Regions from separate parts of the Homo sapiens genome. Here regions 1 and 3 are each linked to region 2. The links are contacts of gene promoters, found by promoter capture Hi-C in human tissues and cell types (Jung and others, 2019). All regions are on one chromosome and are shown on one strand. The core of a region is centred on a gene start or on the middle of the fragment in contact, and the rest is flanking DNA. Distances in the headings are between cores, read along the strand shown. Region 1 overlaps MAPKAP1 (MAPK associated protein 1). Region 2 holds the start of MAPKAP1 (MAPK associated protein 1). Region 3 overlaps PBX3 (PBX homeobox 3).

The links. The method cuts DNA at HindIII sites, captures the fragments that hold promoters and counts their contacts. A contact is called where the count stands out against the background at its distance.
Region 1: a fragment that was not itself captured here is called in contact with the fragment with the promoter of MAPKAP1 in region 2 in 1 of the 25 tissues and cell types used here (H1 embryonic stem cells).
Region 3: a contact is called between a fragment that was not itself captured here and the fragment with the promoter of MAPKAP1 in region 2, in 1 of the 25 tissues and cell types used here (stomach).

Annotation. Positions count from the first base shown.
Region 1 is chr9:125,490,222-125,492,921 of GRCh38, forward strand. The region is part of intron 8 of MAPKAP1 (MAPK associated protein 1); the gene reads right to left. Among named protein-coding and RNA genes, the nearest start is that of MAPKAP1, 220 kb to the right of the region's middle. The HindIII fragment of the contact is 6,822 bases long and covers 1-2,700 here.
Region 2 is chr9:125,705,804-125,708,503 of GRCh38, forward strand. It overlaps MAPKAP1 (MAPK associated protein 1), which reads right to left and starts at 1,405. Exons shown (of 12, transcript NM_001006617.3): 1 at 1,168-1,405. RefSeq lists silencers at 1,109-1,338, 1,449-1,618 and enhancers at 1,327-1,621, 1,619-1,778. The HindIII fragment of the contact is 13,511 bases long and covers 1-2,700 here.
Region 3 is chr9:125,912,457-125,915,156 of GRCh38, forward strand. The region is part of intron 2 of PBX3 (PBX homeobox 3); the gene reads left to right. Among named protein-coding and RNA genes, the nearest start is that of PBX3, 170 kb to the left of the region's middle. The HindIII fragment of the contact is 3,943 bases long and covers 1-2,700 here.

The DNA.
Region 1 (2,700 bases), core at 72-2,571, 220 kb before region 2:
CATTCTCTTACAAGTGCACAAAGGAATAAAAAGCTTGGCTGGGCGCAGTAGCTCACACCTGTAATCCCACCATTTTGGGAGGCCGAGGTGGGTGGATCACCTGAGGTCAAGAGTTCGAGACCAGCCTGACCAACATGGTGAAACCCCGTTTCTACTAAAAATACAAAATCAGCTGGGTATGGTGGCATACGCCTGTAATCTTAGCTACTTGGGAGGCTGAGGCAGGAAAATCGCTTACACCCGGGAGGCAGAGGTTGCAGTGAACCAAGATTGCGCCACTGCACTCCAGCCTGGGCAACAAGAACGAAACTCTGTCTCAAAAAACAAAACAAAACAAAACAAACCAACAAAAAAACAACAACAAAATAGAAACTATCATTTGAGTTTTGGTATAGTAACAAAAATTAATACCCACAATTATCTGAAAAGGCTATTGAAATATTCTTCCCTTTTTCAACAACATATCTGTGTCAGGCCAAATTTTCTTCACATACTTTAACCAAAGCAATGTATTGCAGCGGACTGAATGCAGAGGCAGATATGAAAATCCAGGTGTCTTCTATAAGCCCAGACATTACAGAAACTTGCAATATAATAAAATAATGACACTCTTCTCATTAAAAATTTTAGGCCTGGCTAGGTGCAGTGGCTCACACCTGTAATCCCAGCACTTTGGGAGGCCAAGGTGGGCGGACCACTTGAGGTCAGGAATTTGAGACCACCCTGGCCAACATGGTGAAACCTCGTCTCTATAAAAATACAAAAAATTAGCTGAGGATGGCGGGGCATGCCTGTAATCTCAGCTACTCTGGAGGCTGAGGCAGGAGAATCGCTTGAAGCCAGTAGGCGGAGGCTGAAGTGAGAGCTGAGATTACACCACTGCACTCCAGCCTGGGCGACAGAGCAAGACTCCGTCTCAAAAAAAAAAAAAAAAAATTTAGGCCAGGTGCGGTGGCTTATGAATATAATTCCAGCACTTTGGGAGGCTGAGGTGGGTGGATTGCTTGAGTCTAGGAGTTTGAGACCACCCTGTGCAACACGGCAAAACTCTGACTCTACAAAAAATACAAAAATTAGCTGGGTTTGGTGGCTCATGCCTGTACTCCCAGCTACTGAGGATGAGGTGGGATGATCACTTGAGCCCAGGAGGTTGAGGCTACAGTGAGCTGTGATCACGCCACTGCACTCTAGCCTGGGTAACAGAGTGAGACCCTGTCTCAAAAAAATTTTTTTTAAAGAAATTATAGTTACTTTTCATAAAATTTGTCATTTGGGCCAGGCATGGTGGCTCACCCCTGTAATCCCGGCACTTCTGGAGGCCAAGGCAGGTGAATTACTTGAGTCCAGGAGTTTAAAACCAGCCTGGGCAACATGGCAAAACCCCATCTCTACAAAAAATACAAAAAAAAAGCAGCCAGGCTTAGTGGTGTGCTCCGATAGGCCCAGCTACTGGGGAAGCCGAGGTGGGAGGATCGCTTGAGCCTAGGAGGTGGAGGTTGCAGTGAGCTGTGATTGTACTACTGCATTCTAGCCTTGTGACAGAGACCCTATCTCAAAAAAAACCAAAAAAACAAAAAAAAACAAAAAAACATAAAACTGTCATTAACATTAATGAAATTACTGTTTTTCAATAAATATTTTAAAATTAATCAATTTTTAATAGATGTAACTCAATAAACAAAAGCTTGGCCAGGTGCAGTGCCTCACACCTGTAATACCAGCAGTTTGGGAAGCCAAAGCGGGAGCACTGTTTGAGGCCAGGAGTTGAAGAGCAGCCTGAGCAACATAGTGAGACTTTATCTCTACTGAAAGTTAAAAAAAAAAAAAAAAAAGTCAGCTGGGCATGGTGGTGCACACCTGTAGTCCCAGCTGCTCGGGAGGTAGAGATGAGAGGATCACTTGAGCCCAGGAGTTTGAGGCTACAGTGAGCTGATTTGCCACTGCACTCCATCCTGGGCGAGACCTGGCGACAGGGCAATACCTCGCCTCAAAATAACAAAACAAAACAAAAGCTCTTTGGGTCTTCAATAACTTTTAAGAGTATAAAGAGGTCCTAAAACCAAAAAGTTTGAGAACTGCTGACTTTATTGGTTATAATGCCATGTTTTCATTGCCCCTGATATCTATTTGGACAATAATAATGGGAAACGAAAGTGCAGTTATAGCTGTGTATATGTGTTATAATCTGACAACAAACACAGCTGCAAAGCCTGTACACACATAAAAGCAATAGGTTTACTTTCAGGTGATCAGACCAAGGCTAATTATAAATACTGTTTTATAGTTTTAAAAGTGTTTTCATAGATGTGATTTAATTGGAACTGAGGGAGACACTTAGAGTTATATGACTTTATTTCAAACAAATAGGACTAATCATTAAATCATAGCTCAGATGAACTCACCGTATATTACTGGAAGATTCCTTGTACTCATAGATACAAACTGCATGGGACTTTAACATTCATTTTATGGTTCAAGGAGTCTTACACCAAGTCTAAAAGGCCCCAATCTAGTTATAAATTAAAGCAACTTCAGTGTCTCTTCTCTAAAAAGATCTATGCCAACTCTAGAACTCAACTGGAAGATCAGTGGCCTCTGTTATATCCTCACCTTTGTCCATAGCACAATCCTGTTGACTGTTTCTTCTAGACTAGCAGTTACTTAGCTCCAGCCATATGCCAGGTGCTGTGCTAGTGCTTC
Region 2 (2,700 bases), core at 155-2,654:
GCAAGGTAGGGAGAATGTTCTACAAAAATCAATGGAATAGGAAAGAACAAAAATGATTAGAGATCCTACTTATTCAGAGTAATGGATCAGGATGGGGTAATTAAAGAAGGAGACCTTTTCAAGCATAACTGGAAAGGTAACCAGGAGCCAGATTAGGAGATGTAAGGGGGTGTAAGTGCAGTCTGGGACACACAGTAGTTGAAGGTAGGCATGAGCACACAGATGAATGGGAAAGGGCTACCAGCATGCCCCAAATCCCGCAGGTGTGTAAACTGAAAAACATGAAAACAATTATTGCTTCATCAAGAACTCTTTCCGTGTTTACTAGGTACCTTGTGTGGGCTCATAAAATATAAGGAATAAAACCCATATCTAGGCTTCTGCTCAAGTGGGTTTTAACATTACGGATCCACCTCTCCTGCTTGTCAGAGAATGAGAACGCTGCTTTTTTTAAACCAATGGGTCTCCATTTGACTCTTCACACCTGGGAAAGTTTTGAACTTTGCCGATTTGGGTTTATAACAACATGGTGCTTTGTACAGTGCCAGGTACTGTGGTGGGCTTCCAAAGTGACTTTCATTCATTCAAAAGGAAGTTTTAACCAATTTCTGAGTCAATTTGGGGGTCTCTGGTTAAAGTCATAATCTTGTTTACGCTACAATCTCTTTTTCCCAGCCTTAAACAAATCTAAATGACTCCTTGCCACTCCCATAAACAAAGAATGAATCAAAGTTCCAGCAGCACTGTAGCTAGAAAAAAGTCTGTAAGGCTGTTAACCTCTTTAAGGGGGAGGGGGAGAAGGGACGCAAGGAAACAAGGACCACACAGTCAATGCTTGAAAACCTTGATTTTCACATTATGAAGACCAGGGCACCTAGATATTGCCAAGTGCAGGCCCAGAAACTGCCGGAGTCAACTACACCCCCCACCCCCACACTACCAGGTCAGCTGGCTTCTTTTCCCCTAAACCACACACCCGCCTCAGACTCCTGACAGCCTCCAGTTCTGGAAATGGCCAGGAAACGAACGCGCCCGGGCCACCTGAACAAGGGCCCGGCAGGCGGCCCGCCGGGCAGCGCTGAAACTGGAGGGGTGAGAGGGCCGCCAGGTGGGCAAGCTGGTGGGCTGACGGACGGGCGGGGAGCTGGCGGCTGGGGCAACCTTTACCTGAAGCTGCTTCCACACTACGGGCCGGGTCGGCCCCGGGACACGTTCCTGAGGGGAGGGCCCGGCTCCCCCACGCCTCCCGGCCCCTGCCCCGAGCTCTGCACTCTCGGGATCCACGGGGACCGGCGCTCCTCCCGGCCCGCTCAGCTGCCGCTTCCCGGGTTAGCCCTCATGCCCCTGCTGCTCGCCGCCGCCGGCCGGCCGAGCAGCAGCCCTATTACCCCGAGCCGCACACGACCCGGAACCACACCCCGGCGTTCCGGAAGTCCCCGACCGGGAAGGAGCCTCTGGCTGGGGACGTAGTGCGCAAGCCCCAGAGCTGAAAGCAAGGAGCGGTAGCTTCCCGCGGGGCGGGGCCGGGAGGGAGGCCGGGCGCATGCGCGCCGCTTCTCCAGTGCAGGGAAAGGCCTGGGTCGGAGACTGAGTTCTGGCAAGATGCGCCAGTGCCTGGACTTGCCTTGAGCAGGAATCAGTGTTAGGCTTCTCCATCGAATCTTCTTTCTCCCCATTTCCACGGAGAAAAGCCCTTAGTTCGTCCAGAAATGAGTGATGAGGCAGCTCAGCCTCTCTGAGAAAGACCTGGGTTCAAATGCCAGCTCTTATAACTTGCTGTGTGTCCTAGGATGTGACACTTCTCTCTGAGCCTCGGGTTTTCCCATCCAGGGCAATAGTTTCAACTTTAGAGTATATTGCTGTGGGAATCGAATGGGATGATGCTTGAAAAACACCCAGCATAGTGCCTGACACATAGTAAACATGCAGTCAATGTTAGTTATTTCTCTTATTATAATATCTGTAATATGGAGGTGACAATAATCTTCCTCAAGCCCTGCTGGGAGGTTTCCAGGAGATGTAGGAGGACTGGCACAGGGCAGAAGTTCAGTGTGTCTCATGCTGCTCCCTTCCTCTCTCACGGAGGAAATCAGTAGAGAAAGCCACGATGAAGGGGGAAAAAGGATTCAGGGAGTGCAGTGAGAGTGGTTCTCCCACCTGAAAGATGCTTGGGGAAGTCTCTCAAAAACGCACCTTAGCAAAAGAAAAAACTCAAGGTTGAATTTCAGCCCTGAGGGACCCCTGCCCAATTTTAAACTTATTAATAAATATGCCATGGGGCCAGGCACGGTGGCTCACACCTGTAATCCCAGCACTTTGGGAGGCCGAGGAGGGCAGATCACTTGAGATCAGGAGTTCGAGACCAGCCTGGCCAACATGGTGAAACCCTGTCTCTACTAAAAATACAAAAATTAGTCTGGCGTGGTGGTGTGCACCTGTAGTCCCAGCTACTCAGGAGACTGAGGCAGGAGAATGGCTTGAACCCGGGAGGCAGAGGTTGCAGTGACCCAAGATCAGGCCACTGCACTCCAGCCTGGGTGACAGAGACTCTGTCTCAAAACAAAAAAACAAAAAACACGGTGGGTCTACCCATGTATTTCAAATATGGTCATCCATCACTTAATGATGAGGACACAAGAAATGCATCGTTAGCTGATTTTGTGGTTGTGTAAACATCATAGACTGTACTTACACAATGTC
Region 3 (2,700 bases), core at 156-2,655, 210 kb after region 2:
GGCAGGTGCACAGCATGTTGAAAGACAGCTAATTAGGATTTGCTGAAAGATATGCAAAAACTGTAGGCTTATAACAAAGCCAAGTTCATTGTTAAACAATGTTTTACTGTGTTTGTATGATTTGTCTAAATCTTAGGGATACGGAAATGAATGTTGTGATTATAAGTAGATTGCAAATAGGGTTTATTTTTTAAACTTTATAATGTTGTGATGACCAAAGAACCTAGATGTAAACCTTTATAAACCTCTGTATGTTTCATTATACATACATTTTGGATTAAAAACAAGTACAATCAAATTTTAAATGATTGTTTTACCATGTTTCAATTTGAAGATATCAAGATATTTTGATAACCACACAGTCTGATTCATTCTGGCCCTTGCAAATTTAGACCCATTAAAATGTTTATAGGTGCCCAGAGGAGTAGGTATTATGACTAAAAGCCAGTGTAACTCTAGAAAGTTAGTAAACTAAGTAATAGTGAGTGGCTAGGTAGGTAGGATGAGGAATAAAATGGTAACTAAATGTTTTTAAGTAAGAAAATAAATAGAAATATTCAAATTGAAAGTAATTTTGGAAACCAGGTATTAGTATTTAAAGATCCCATAATCATTACTTTGCTTAATAAAGAAAAGAAACCGATTCACTTTTCAGACTAGTTATGAAAATTCCTTTATTATTGATAGTCTTCTTCTTGTTGCCTATTTGCAAAGTACTTTAGTACTTTTCATCTAAAGAACTATGAGTTTTCCGTCAGGAAATGATTTTTCTGATGAAATTTGATGCACATAATTTATAAAGTAAATACAAAGGATTGCATTAAAACATATTTTCCTGTTCTTGAGGCAAGCACTTAGTGTTGATTTACTGATAATTTTAGAAATAAGATATTTTTTCATTATAAGAGTAAAACGTTATAGTAATTGATACTGTATACTTATAATTGTTTTTATTTGTGTCCACGGCTTTTGAGCTTATGGATTGCTTCTTATTGGTACAATAATGATGGTTTATATACGTATTTATATACATATGTATAAAAGTATCATAGATGGCTAATTAGTTTTGTGCCTTTTGCATTTGTTCCTAATGAATTTCCTTCTGTCTCTCTTATGGTGTACTTCCTTGTATGTTTGTCATTGAGCTTCTTCTCTTGTTTGCCGTACATGTGCAGGGAAGTGTAATCATTTTGGGTATGGAAGTTAATCTGCTATTAAAGTACTTCACCACATGTCCATAGGGAAAAGATTAATGTGTTTAACTACAAGGGGAAAACTAGAAACCCGGAGGAAACTTGAAGGTAGATTAAAAAAACACATTTCAGGAGAGGCACCAGTGTCTATGTAAATACAAAAATCAACAAACACACAAAACTGTGGGCAAAAATTCAGTTGAAAATGGAGAAACTTGAGAAGTCCTCAAACAAGAATAAAAAATTAAACAATTCAAAGTGCAGCATAAGAGATTGCTCAGTAAGCTCTCATTGCATGCCAAATGCACAAAAAACTTGCTATGTGAACTACAAGCATGTACAGGTCGTGAGATTTTTAACATTTAACACAGTGAATTAAAAGAGAGGAAAATTAAAGATTTAAATTAAAAATGCAAACTTAACCAATACATGGCAGTTCTAGAACAATATTAGGCAGTCCCTTTTAGTTATAGAAGAAACAGCAAATACGTTTGCCTATTTTTAATTATCAGCAGTGTGTTGGTACGCATTTTATGAGTTATCTTTTTGCTCTCCTAAATGAATATATTGTCTTAGTATATTATAGTTTTCAAACCTTATTTGCCTCTGAATAGACAACAGATAAAATTTTAAATTATGGTGAGTTAGTTTTATTATCCAGTTGAAATTATTCTGAAGTATAATTTTAAATGAAAGTGACAGCTTTAAAGTGTTTTGGGGAAGAAATTAAAGTTTTGCATTTGTGTTAAGGCAACCAAGAGCTCTGTCATGCCATGGATGTAATTCAGGGCATCTAGGAATGAAATCTGTTCTTAAAAGAATTGACGGTAGCTTTAGGTTAGCATATAAAATCAGAGTTGGTGATCAGTTGAGTACTTGGCAGCTTATAGATGTTATGTCATGTAAGTTACACTAGACACAAAGTGTGTACCACTGTGGATAAACAACAACAGGCACAGACTCAAAAGAGAATCCAAATACAAACAAGCAAGGTGCCAACTTCCTTTTCCCCTCTTCCCCAAGAAGCCTTGTAACTAGTGTAGGGAACCTGCTTTGAAGCAGATTTACAGAGGTTAATTGGGCTGGGATGTTTTAGATTATGTTACACATTAATGAAAATGCTGATTTTGAGCTGTCATGACTCCAATGCTTTTTATACCATGATAATTATTTTAAAACTTTGTCTTCTGTGTTGTTGAAAACATTTTGGCAGAAAGCCTGTGTGACCTGATTAAACCTATGAATTGTCAGCTATGATCTATAGTACTCAGAAGAGGTTGCTGACTGGGCATCACTTAGGAAGTTCTTGATTTAAAAGCAAAATTAGATTGAGACTACTGTGCCCAGCACTGTATTGCCATGTCAATGGCACATTTTTAATACTGTATTTAGTATCCTCGTTTTATAGTTTGCTGGCAATTGCTTAACAATATTCATTTAATAATATATATATATTTAAGTATAGCCAGTTACCTCATAATGTGTGTATTCCTCTTCTGAAATCACA